Regions from separate parts of the Homo sapiens genome. Here all the other regions are linked to region 2. Evidence: promoter capture Hi-C in 16 types of primary human blood cells and fetal thymus (Javierre and others, 2016). All regions are on one chromosome and are shown on one strand. The core of a region is centred on a gene start or on the middle of the fragment in contact, and the rest is flanking DNA. Distances in the headings are between cores, read along the strand shown.

Region 1 (4,087 bases), core at 1,455-3,954, 510 kb after region 2:
TCTCGCTTTAAATCTTGTTTGACCAATCCGTACAGAATATGCTTGCTTCTATAATTCTTCCTTTCCAATCCCCAACAAGGAACAATCTATTGTGTCTTACAATGAAGAAAGACAAGATGATGGGACAATGCATCCCTCTTCTCTTTTCCACGTTCCTCGCATTTTTGGTTGCTCATTTTAGCCTACATTTCAATGCACTGCACGTAGCCCAGGCTTCTGTCTTCTCATCACCTTTTCTCCTCCTCAGCTATTGGTTCTGCCTGATGGATTCAGTTCCATTTAACTACAGATGTAAATGCATTTACAGCTGTTCTCAATAGCTTTTTTTGAGCCAGTCTTTTCTTCAAGAACACAACCATCATAGTTTGAATTCTGTGGCATGTTAAGCCTGAAGATGCAAATATTGAGGGGTTGGGGGAGAAGATGCGTAATAATTGTCTTCAGATATTTGACCTGCCACCCTGTTGATGTAGGATTAAACTTCTATAGGAATATAGAGCCATTGGAGCAGTGATTCTGAAAGAGGGGCATGTGGTAAGTAGAGTCACTTGGGGACTTCCTCAGGTTATAATTCCTTTCTCTGCTGAGATGCTCATGTGCCTGCTGTAGAGTGCCACTGTTACAATGGGAATGTGATCTATTTCCTAGGAGCATTAGGATGGAAAAATTGAGAGAACTAGAGAAGTGTGCTATAAATTCCACAAGATCAGGTAAACTACATATAACTTCCTCACCTTTTTATTTGTAAGCCCTCACAAGGACTGGCACATGGCAGATGCTCAAAAAAATCTTAAAGTATTGTCTTGTTTATGAATTAAAATTTAAAACTTCAGGGAAACAAATTTTGTTTTAATATAAGGATTATCTAATAATTTGAAGCATTGTCCAAGGTGAGTTGTCATGACAGACAGAAACTGGGGGTACTGGTATATCCATGGAGAGTTGACCCGATCTATGGGACTAACAGAAGGGCAGCCAGTTTGTCCCCAGGCCAAGAGAAAACCCTAACATGTTTTATTTCATGGCCGTGAAAAGATTCATGATTCGGAGGGTATAAAGAGATGCATCCTATCATATCATCAGTTTAAATCAGGGAAACAAATCCTTATGCCTTGCTTTCTGAGGATTCTATGTTAATTTGAACTACAGTTTATTAAATTCTAAATTTCAAATTTCTATGTATAACAATTTGGGGTTTATTACTAAGAATAATACTTGTACCTTTGAAAGTCTCTGAGTACTTGGGTCTCTTTCTCTAGAGCTCTACATGAATGCTGGTACATATCAGCACAAAGATGCCTTCTGCCTGCAGACAGCAAAACCTTTTAACCTCACCTCTTTGCCGTAGTAATTTGGAAACCAAATTTGGAAAAAGCTTGATAGTGGCGCACAACAAAGTCCAACATTTTCTTGAAACATTGGAAGTCTTTTGAGGTTTTGCCCTCTTCCTCTTCCTTTTTCCTGCTCCTTTGTAATTCTAAATGAAATTCATCATCCAAGGGAATGGGGTATGGTGATAACAATTTTTGATATCAATGTATTGCACAGTCATTTGCACTGAACATCTGTGGCCTATTATAAGGAAGTCATAAAGTGGGAAGCCTCCACCAGCGTTGATGTGAGGATATTTTGGTCAAGAGCGCCACCTCTCAGCAGCGAATCAAAGTGGCCCCCTGTGGGCCAAAATCAGAGGAACCATTGGCCAGCGGAAGAGTGAATAATCTAGTCACTAGTATTTTCTCACGGCTCTTCACCCAATTACCTTTTTATTAAACAGTGAGAAAGTGCCTGAGACTGTACATCGTGTCGGTTTTAGTGGAAGCACACGGGAGGTGGATAAATCTGGGCTCTGAAAAATAGCCCTGAGTGTTCTGTGTCAATAAAAATCTACTACTAAAAGACGGCAATGGAAAATTCTTAGCTACTTATTTTAAAATGTAGATCCTTACAGAGTAAAACAAGTCTTCAGACTTTATCGAGGTTAAGAATTATTCCTTAGCATTTTAGAGATCTTAGAGTTCTTCTAAGCCCTTTTGTTATAGGTGAGGAATGTGGGGTTCAGAGTGGTGCAATGACTTCTAAGACTCCCCTATTGACTCTCCAGCCACTGACTGCTGCCCTCAGGCCCTTTCTTTTGAACTCTTTTTTTTGGATTCCCAGGATTTTACAGCTTAGAGGGTACCAGAAAATTGAGACTAAATAAAAACTAATTGTGATATCTTAGACTGTATCTGAATAGAGATTTTATCTTTATACATTTGTTGCATGTGGCTAGTGCAAATAAAGTACAAATCTCTCTATCCATAACACACACAAAACACAGATGTTGATTTCTGGATAAACTTATGTAAATCACTACACATGTGTCTGAATTTATTCATGCAAAAATTTTGAAAAAGCAGTTTTAGATTCTCCTTTATAGGGAGCTTTAAAGTGATTTAAAATATACACCTGTACGTATTAATATGATTTGATGTTCATACGATATTTTCTAAGTAACTTGTCTTTGTTTTTTTTCCTGAGACAGGATCTCACTCTGTCACCCAGGCTGGAGTACAGTGGTGCGATCTCAACTTACTGCAACCTCCGCCTCCCGGTTCAAGCGATTCGCCTGCCTCTGCCTTGTGAGTAGCTGGGACTACAGGCATGCACCACCATGCGCAGCTAATTTTTGTATTTTTAGTGGAGATGGGGTTTTATCATGTTAGCCAGGCTGGTCTCAAACTCATAACCTCAAGTGATCCACCCACCTCGGCCTCCCAGTGCTGGGATTACAGGTGTGAGCCACTGCACCTGGCCACTTGCCTAACTTTTAACAGAGACTTTTGGAGATAATGTCATGTTCTGAGTGACATGGAGGAAATTTTACCTCATTTTTTTTTTTTTTTTTTTTTTTTTTTTACTGTGAAGTGGTATTGCTGTCACAGGAAAAAGGCAGTAGGCTAAGGATGAGAACACTTAGGTTCAAGTTCAGGGTCAGCCACTTAGTAGCTCTGTGGTTTAACCCAAGTCACTTAAACTCTCCTGGGGTGTGTGTGTCTGTGTCTGTGTGTGTGCATGTTAGAGGGCGGGTGTGGTAATAAGAAAATCTAAACTGCCTTTCTCATTGGATTGTTCTTAGCATCAAATTCAATAATGTACTTGAAACTTCTTTGAAACATAAATCAAGTTTAAGTTAGTATTACAATGGCCAGAGCATTTGCTCACCACCATGTAGCATGCCAAGTGGAGGCAGTGTATTTAAAGGTTAAAAGCCAAGTTCTTTGATCTGCCAGTTTGGATGGAATCCCAGCTTCACCACTCACTGGCTGTGTGACCTCTGGTGAGTGCTGAACCTGCCTAAGTTCAACATCCTGATGGAATACGAATGTAGTATTACACATATCTTGTTGGGTTGTTATAAGTACAGTGATGCATGCAAGACATGAAGTGGGAGGTCAAGCCCATAACACGTCAATGTTAGTTTGTCTTCACATTATGAGATTCCTGGCTCTTGCTTTTCCTGGGGTTCTGGGGGATAATCAGTCTAGGAGAGTTTGGCCTGTTAGCCTTTGAAACGTTTACTTAGATCTCCTTTACTTATTTACAGAGCTAAGACGTCACCTCAAATAACATAGGACAAATTAATGTGTCATGAAACAAAATCATCTTCAGCAAAGATTCAAGAGTTTGAGGGCTAAACCCGAGAATATATATTTTTTATTCTAACTTCCTCACTCTCATCTTCAGAGCTATGTCCCTTTCAGAAAAATTCTACTTCAAGAGAAGATTTGGTTTCAGGATGTCTCCTGGACTGGAGGCATGTACCTAGTAAGTGTCCCCAATAATTTCAGACCCTTTATAAACTTGATGGATTTCATATATAACTCATTGTTTTGTATTACAAATAATTTGGTTCACTTACTCTATTTTCCCTTTCCAATTTTGAACTTCACGAAGGGTTAGACTTTTTCTGTCTTTTCTCACTATACCTAATATTTAAGTCACATGAATGATTCAAAGATCATTAATGCTCTGACATTATGTAAGCTTAGACTCCTGTTGTGTCTCACTTACCTTCTCATTGGGCATCTTTGAAAAGTTTGCT
Region 2 (4,369 bases), core at 1,166-3,665:
CTTTTTTTAAATCAGATGTTTGGTATGAAGATAATCTGGATCACTTTTTACAAAAGCCTTTTTCATATCAAGGCATGCAGAAAGATGATAATACTTCTACTCATCCCTGGGGTAAGATGCTGATCATAGCTAAAGATGACCAGCCCAGGTCTCTGACAAACCCAATCCCTGCCTGGCCACTCTGAGGACCAAGGGGGCCAGTATCACTGGCACGCCGCTTGACATGACGGTTCATCAAGCCACTCAAGTGGTGAGGCTCTGATTACCAATTAATATATCTAAAAGTACCCTGGGATAGAGCCAGCCTATCATGGACCCTTTCACCTCATGGGCTTAGGGTCCAACTGTTAAATAAAAGACTGTTAGGTTTCTCAAGGCCCTTTGACTATATAACTCCACTTCATTATATCCCAGAACCTAACTAACTGTGCTTATAGCAAAGTATCTTTGGGAAATGATATGGTTCCAATTTGGATTGTCGTTAAGTGTTCCTTCTTCCCTGATCTGAACAACAGGAGCAGCTCATGGGCTGAAAGTGGGAGGTCAAGATGAAAATTAGGTGAAGATGTAGGTAGACACAGAAGTAAGATCAGGAATGATTTGTTATTAAAGGAATGTGTGAGTACTCACTGTATCAGGTACTGTTCGTATATTACCCTCAATCTTCATAGCCATCTTGGTTTCATTTTACTTGAACACGAAAGCTACAAAGTGTACTATTCACACAACAGAGAAAGCTATACAGTGGGTTCAAATCTCCTCTGCCATGGAAAAGAGAATAAGGGGACCAGCTGTTCAGCTCTGGCCCTCCTTGCTGGGTCCCATTTGAGCTTCTCTCCAGTTCTGGCTGGTTGGGATGTCTCCTTCTTCAAAAGCATCTTGTTAGTTGGTTATTTTTAGCAACATTTAACAACTGAAGAAATGTAAGGTAAAGGAAGCTTAGAAGACTTGCCAGAGGTTATACACTGGAGTGAACTGCAAACACTAGGTGTTCTGCTTGTGGGTCAGAGGTTCAAGGGTGAAGAATTGCCAGGGCAGAGGCTGGAGATGGGAGCTAAGAAATGTTCTACACTTTGCATCCTTTGTCACTGAGAATGATGACAGAGGTGGTGCTGGCTCCTACTGCTGCTCTGAAAGGCTGGGTTAAGAGGAAAGCGGAGGTGGGAGCAGCAGTTCTGCTTTTCATGACAACCAGGGAATAGGGGAGGTGGGAGCCAACAAGGGACCTACATGAACACCCAGTCTGTGTCTTCGTCTATATTACTCACTGTTTACTCCCAGGCTCTCACACCTTATCAGAGGGGAAAAGTAAACCTCCCACAAAACACCATTTGGTTCAACTACAGATGTATTTTGGATATCTTCAATCAACGCTTGATCCTGAAAAAATGCTTTCAAAGAATCTTCAACCAATGGCATACAAGGACCTACTCGGAAATCACAAAAGCCAAATAATGTCAAGCAAGTGTGTAAGAAGACAGCCCTGTATGGCAATACTAAAGAAAATTTTGCATTCTAACTACAAGGGGAAGGAAGAGTCAGCAGGGGTGTAACAAATGACACATGATAGTCACCCCAGAGGATAGCATAAATTGTACACAGTACAAATAGTACAGAAAGTATAATTTGCTTTAGTAATTCAGTTTTTCATTTGGTTTTCAAGACCTGTCAGGGATCAAGAAATTAATATAGACATATACTAATTTTGCATATATAAATTATTTGCAAAACCATTTGTGAAAAAGTTTCACAAATCATTCAATCTAGATTTAACAACTGTTATAAAACTATCCTGAAGCACCTGAAAACCAGTTGGACCAGGGTCAGAAAATCCAAAAAATTCATCAGGTCTTATCCAGAATTACTCTATCTAGTAGCAGTATTAATCCACCCCTCTATTTAGAGTTACACAGGCATATTTCAAGATAAATTATAAGAAAGGAAAGACTGGGTGACCCTCAAATCACTAATTTCAATCCAAAATTATTAAAATAGGGTATTTTAAACTCTATTTTGATGTTAAAGAGCGAAACGTCAACAAAACAGGTTTGGCAAAGGACTATTTATCAAACACAGTCACACAACGATTATGAAACCACATGATAAGATAGCACACAAAGAAAACATTGGCTATTTAACTACTCAGGAGGAAAAACTAGGTGTTCCTAGTTTTTCCTAGGTGGAAGGGGGAAGCAGGCTAAAAAGCAGTTTTTAGGGTTTCAGATATGTAATTGTGGCAGCAGGCACAGCATCAGGGTAAATCTTCCTTTTGACTTCCTCAGAACACCAGTTGAGATTTATGTAAGGTGGTATAATTTAGTTTAGAGAAAACTGAGATTGCATCAGTTTGGCCTCACCCTTGGCCTGACATTTTATCCTTCTCTCCAGAGATCTTGCTTGGACTGCCCTTAAGTACGCTGCTCCAGAGAACTCTGCTCTACATTGTCAGAAACCAGCTTTCAAGTAAGTTCTGTTGCTAGTTCCACATGGTAATTCCACAGTTAAGTCAGAAGGCATTTGAAAAGATGTATAACTTTGGATGGCTCTTTTCTGATTATAGGCTGAAGGGGGTTCTTTTCTCTTTGGTTTGCCTTTTGCTTTTAATAGCTTGACCATTTCTGGCTTCCACTGCATTGTAAGAGCTAAACTACAGGTTTGTCAGTCAGTGTTTCTCTCTCTGTCTCTTTCTCTCTCTCCCTGCTCCTACCCCCTCTTCTCTCCATTCTCCTCTCTCCATCTCTCTCATTTCCTAGTTACAAATCATGTTGTCTTACTGTCTTAAGAGCATCACTGATTTCATCCTTGTGCCACTGTCCCTATGCTCCCAAGATCACATTTCAGCATTTTAGGATACGTTTTTTGTTTCATTTTTAGAATACTTTTCAGAAGAGGTCATGATAAGCAAGACAATTTTACATTTCTGAGTTGAAAAAACTGTGCTGCTCTTCCAGAACAGTTTTGGTTTGTATTCTCAGTTTCAGGGGCTCCCCTGACTCTACATTTTAGGAACAAGAAGAGGTTAACATTGAGCAGGTTGTTCATGAACCGGCAGTTACCTTTACTACAGGAATCACTTTGGATTCAGGCTGAGAAGGCACTATAGCTCTTAAAATCACTATGTAGGGCAAGTGAAGAAGAAAGAAAAGAAAGAAGAAGAAAGTAAGGAGGAGGAGGAAGGAGGAGGTGGGAGAAAGAAGGAAGGGGGAGAAGCGGGAAGGGGGAGGAGGAAGAAGAGGAGGAAGAGGAGCAGGAAGAGGAGCAGGAAGAAAGGGAGGAGGTGAGGAAGGGAGACGGGGAGGAAGGGGAGGAGAAGCATGACCACCATTTTGACCTAAACTCATATCTTATCCACAAATAAATTCAAAATGGATCACAGACTTAAATATAAAACATAATGCTATAAAATTTTCAGAAAAGAAAAACAGGAGAGAATCTTCAGAACATACAGCTAGGCAAAGAGATCTTAGAATTCAGACCAAAAGCACAATTCATAAAAGGAGAAACTGATAAATTGAACCACATCAAAATTAAAACCTTTTGCTCTGCAACTCTGTTAACTGGATGAAAAGACAAACTACAGTCCGGGAGAAAATATTTGCAAATCACATATCCAACAAAAGACTAGAATGTGTACAATTCAACAGTAAAAACCTAAACAATTCAATTAGAAAATGGGCAAAAGATAGGAAAGGAGATGCCACTAAAGAAGATACACTATGGCTAATAATAAGCACATGAAAATGTTAAACTTCACTAACCATTAAGGAAATACAAATTAAAACCATAATGAGATATCACTACATACTTATCAGAATAGCTAAGATAAAAATAAAAAATATTGACACCACCAAATGACAATGCAGACAAACTGGATTACTCAGACTTTGCTGATGGGAATGTCAAATGTTACAACCATTCCAGAAAAGAGTATTGCACTTTTTTATAAAACTAAAAATACACTTATCTTTTGACCCAGCAATTGCACTCTCAGACAATTATCTCAGGGAAATGAAAACTCATGCTCATACAAAAACTTGTACATAAATGATTGTAGCATCTAGCATCTTTGTTCATAAATAGCCCAAACTGGAAACAACCTAAATGCCCTTCAATGGGTAAATGACTAAAAAGCTGTGATTCATCCATACTATGGAATGCTACTGTGCAATAAAAAGGAACAAACTATCGATACATGCAACAGCTTTGAGGGATGTCAAGGGAGTAATGCTGAAGGGAAGAAAAAGCTAAATGCCAAAGGTTACATACTATATGATTCCATTCACCTAGTATTCTTGAAATGACAAATTATAGTGGTTGTCAGAGGAGGCAGGCAGATGGAAGGAGTGAGTAGGGATACAAAAAGGTAGCA
Region 3 (4,522 bases), core at 120-2,619, 470 kb after region 2:
CACTGTGTCTCCAACTAAATTGGAGAGAGAAATTCTGTAAGAGGCATAAGAAGGCTACCTTCCTAGAGCTAAGTGCCTCTTGATATCCATACACAGCTGAGATCTTCTGACTGGACTATCTATCAATTGGTCTTTGACACAGTTTCAAAACAGTAATAGAACACAGCAGTAGAATATTTCATGATGATGACAGCATAGTTGGAGCATTCAAGTCACTCACTCTGAGGTTAAATTTCCAAGTGTATTTTTCTCTTAGATTTAATTTCTGGTTGAGAGAACAGTTCCAAATGTAATACAGATCTATTATATGGATATAATGGTGGAATCTGTTTTTCCTGCTTCACTACTTATTTGTCAGCTAAGAATCTTGAGCAAGACAGTTAACATCTCTGACATGATCATCTTGTTTGTAGATAGGGAGGAGTTAATGATGGTATCTCAGGGATTGGGAGAGTAGCAGTATACCTATGTATATTTAAATTATCCAAAACAAGGTAAATGTGTATGGTATGCACCATATGTAAAAATGTAAAAAGGGATAAATATAGATATTTGCTTGTATTGGAATAGAATACCTCTGGAAAAATACACAATAAATTAGTGACAGTAATTGCCTCTGTGGTGGGGACTGGGGACAGAGGTGAGAGAAAAGATTTTCATAATATGCATGCCCTTTCCTACTTCCTACTCTTCTTTCTTTTCTTCACCCATCCCTGTCTTTCTTATTGCTAGTAATGGCTAATGTAAAGCATATCACTCTTTTGCATGTATCACTCTTCTCCCTGACTCTACTGCTATGTCAGAACTGGGACTTCTACTTCACAGAAAACATAGAGATTATCTTCAGATACGTCTCAGTTTTATGATCATTGTCTTAGATATCACTTGCCTTGGCATTAGATTTTACTTTGATTTCTGCCATTTCAGAGGATAAGCTCACCTGCTCTCTTTCCTCTCTTTATTTGTATATCTGTCTCTGTCCCTCTTTTTGTACATTCTCGGTGGTATTGAAGTATCCTCATATGTTTCTTATCCTTAAAAAAACCATTCCCTAGCCTAGACCTTGTTAGCTGCCATTTTCCTTCTCTTTTCCTCTTTATAACTACATTTCTTAAAGACTTTTCTGTATTTTCCCTCTCAACTTTATCATTAATAGTCACATTTTGCCCCACTGGATTTGATTTCCTGCACTCCCCTGAAACAGTGTTCCCCAAGCTCACTAAAGGCCTCTGTTGTTATTAAACCCAATGGACGTATTTTCTATCTTTATTTGACCTCTGCCCAATACATTGTCACCAAAGTCTACTTTCTTTCCGTATTTTTCTTCTGTGACTTCCATAAAGCCTTCTTCCTTTTCCTCACCCTTGTCTGAGTGGGGAGTTTATCTTACTTGTTCTCATAAAAATCTAGGGGTACATCTAGTATGTAATCATCTATGGACATGAACACGTATTTTCTCCATTAGACTGTGATATTCTGAAGACAAGAACTGTGTCATTTCGGTTTTTGAATCCTTAGTGTCTAGGACAGTGAGTTCATCAATAAATGTTGCTTTATAGAACATTAAATGAAAGAGAAAATTTTCTTCTCTAACTTTAGTTTTAATGCTAACTGTGACAGGAACAGCTTCTTGCCTCTAATATCCTTTCTCGTTCTCTTTCTTTATAATGGAAACTTAACTGTGTTCAGCTGTGAAATTACATTTCCCGGCCTCTCTGGTTTGGCCATATGATGAGGCTCAGGGTAATGGGAGGAAAATAGAAAGTACCTCCAGAAGGCACTTTAGAAAGGAGGATCATATCTTCTTTCCTTATTGTTTCTTCCACCGTGAAGTGAATAGTTACAGCTCTATCAGCCCTCTTGTGACCTTGAGAACAGAAGGCAGAACAGCAAGAAATAAGTCTAGGTCTGTGAGATTTTTGTAGGGTTCTATGGTTTGAATGTTTGTACCCTCTCAAACTTATGTTAAATTTTAATTTCCTTTGTAACAGTATTGAAAGGTGGGAACTTTAAGAGATAATTAGACTGTGGGGGCCCTGCCCTCATGAATAGATTAATGCTGTTATTTCAGAAGTGGTTTCCAAAAGGATAAGTTTGGCTCTCTGTTCTCAATCTCTCTCTCTCTTCTCTCTTTTTTCTCTTTCTTTCTCTCTCTCTTTTTTCTTTCTCTCTCTCTCTCTCTCACTTTCCTTCTCTCTCTCCCTCTCTCCTGCCCTTTCTTTCTGTCTCCCTCCCTCTCATCCCACCCTTTGCCCTTCCTCCCTAGGATGATGTAGCAAGAAGGCCCTTGCAAGGTGCCAGCCCCTCAACCTTGTACTTCCCAGCCTCCAGAACCATGAGCCAATACATTTTTGTTCATTATAAATTACTCAGTCTGTTCTATTCTGTTACAGCAGTACAAAATGGGTTAACACAAACAGTTACCACACCAAACCTGTAAAAAATACCTCTCAACTTTTAAAAAAAAAGAGAATATGCCAGGTACTATGGCACATTCCTGTAATCCCAGCTACTCAGGAAGCTGAGGCAGGAGGATGGCTTGAACCCAAGAGTTTGCTCCACTGCCCTCCAGACTGGGGGGCAGAAAGAGGCCCTGTCTCCTGTAAAAAAAAAAAAAAGAAAAAGTAAGATAATAGACATTTAAACTGTTTAAGTCACTCTAAGTAGATCGCTATTACTAACAGCTGAACTTAATTCTAACTTATGTACATCCTAAAATAAAAGTTCTTAACATAAGTTAGCACATCTTAGTGCTAGAGAATCAAGCCTTTGTTTCTCTAGTTCACTTACACCATAGGGGTAGATTTAGGTGAAACACAGAGTCTGGATGACCAGTAACATGTTTGATGTCCACAGCTTCATGGGTTTGTCCAGAGCAGTGGGCTCTTGTAGGGAAAAAGTGCGAGTTTAGCAGATTAAGATGTGGTTGTTATTTAGGAACCAATTTTTGAGGGTGAAAGTGACTTGATTAAATCTACACTAGATTATTCAAGAAGTCATTGGATTGAACAGGCCAGTTAATTCAGTCCAAATGGCTATCTTCTTTTAAATAAACCTTCAACTGGATTTTCTGCAAGTTGATAATTTGAAGACCAAATGAAATTTATTTACAAAACAGGACAATCCAACAGCACAGGAGCATGTCACTGGGGTCTAGGGAGTGCATTAGTTCTAATTATGGAGCTAACAGCAATGTCTGGAGGAACACCATGGATCTAAAAGGCCTGGACCACAATAGGTAGAGAGGCAGTCTGGGTAGCGACTAGTTTTTTAATGTCTTAGAAAAGCCTACCTTGATTTATCTTCAGGAGCATTCAAAGTATTTTGCAACCATAATTTTAAAATATCTTTTGAAATAATTTGAATACCTGAATGTATGTGAAAGAGTCCAGACTCATGTATTTACATGGCAAAGTTTGATAAGGCAGAGTTTTTCCCATATAGGCATGCAATTGATTTAACTATAGGCTTGACCCATGGAATTCTCTTGTAAACTGACAGCCATGAGAAAACCCACTCTTGCAGTAGAGCCCTCCTCCTGGAAATAGAGCAGCACTTCTTGCCCTTTCTCACAGTCCTCTTGGCTGCAGGGAAACAAGAATGCTCTTTGTCAAGGCATACCCAGGAGGAGCATTTTAGAGCTCAATTTTCTCATGGTTTATTCAAATAAAAAGGAATGAAGATAATTTAATTTGAAATATGTCCAAGTGTTTCTTGTATCATCCCTGTGCTGTGGCATGTTTCTAAAGCAAATAAGACAGTAAGAAATCAAATATGAAGAAATTCAGCTGAGTGTTTCATGTCCTAAAAATGGGCATTTATAGAGCTTACCATGGCTTTTCTCTTATCCCTTCTTTTCTGAAATAAAATGCTTCATGACTTGGTTGCCTGACAAAGAAACAAGCAGAGATGACTACCAGATCATATTCATAACCTCAACCTATCTCAACATATCATGTAGCATTTCTTCAGTAGTCCTGCTACTTAGCTTCCTTCTAGACACAGTAAATGAATCATGAATTGAAAGAGATCTTAGCTGCAGAAAGAGGACCCAGGTTAACACCCACACAGACTAAGCCTGCAGGACCCTGCCTTGGAATCTGTAAAGTAAGGGTGTTCAGTGTCCTGAAGTCATCCCATCCAGGATACTCCACAGGAGGTGGAGCTTCCTCAGAACCTGGCCTAGCAACTTATTGCTGCTCTTGGCTCTGATCCAATGTGGTACTCTAGTTGGAGGCGGCACATAGTAGGAGCTCAGTGAAGCTGAAACAATGAAGGATATGTGAAGTTTCTAGTTTCAATTAGCTTTTAGTTATCACTTTATTAGTAGATTATCTGGATAAATTGCTTGTTGCTTATTTTTCATTTCAACCCATATATTCACCAGTTAAAATCTCTACAACCAGTACTGGTCTAACGCTAGCGACTGCTCACTATTTTTAAAGGAACACATGAAGCATTGTAAATTTTGCTGAATGTAACTTCCACACTATTCACATATTAAGAAGGCTAAAATAACAGG

Evidence for each region. The method cuts DNA at HindIII sites, captures the fragments that hold promoters and counts their contacts. A CHiCAGO score of 5 or more calls a contact.
Region 1: a contact is called between a fragment that was not itself captured here and the fragment with the promoter of NCOA7-AS1 in region 2, in 15 of 17 cell types (naive B cells, total CD4 T cells, total B cells and 12 more). The highest score is 19.4, in naive B cells.
Region 3: a contact is called between a fragment that was not itself captured here and the fragment with the promoter of NCOA7-AS1 in region 2, in 1 of 17 cell types (total B cells). The highest score is 5.2, in total B cells.

Annotation. Positions count from the first base shown.
Region 1 is chr6:125,311,861-125,315,947 of GRCh38, reverse strand. No RefSeq gene overlaps it. Among named protein-coding and RNA genes, the nearest start is that of HDDC2, 12 kb to the right of the region's middle. The HindIII fragment of the contact is 2,654 bases long and covers 1,378-4,031 here.
Region 2 is chr6:125,816,904-125,821,272 of GRCh38, reverse strand. NCOA7-AS1 (NCOA7 antisense RNA 1) reads left to right here and starts at 2,415. Exons shown (of 3, transcript NR_126386.1): 1 at 2,415-2,463. The region is part of intron 2 of NCOA7 (nuclear receptor coactivator 7); the gene reads right to left. RefSeq lists an enhancer at 2,689-3,190. The HindIII fragment of the contact is 4,548 bases long and covers 941-4,369 here.
Region 3 is chr6:125,350,225-125,354,746 of GRCh38, reverse strand. LOC107986640 (a long non-coding RNA gene) reads right to left here. Exons shown (of 3, transcript XR_001744328.3): 2 at 3,832-3,888; 3 at 1-2,600. Among named protein-coding and RNA genes, the nearest start is that of HDDC2, 51 kb to the right of the region's middle. The HindIII fragment of the contact is 9,886 bases long and covers 1-4,522 here.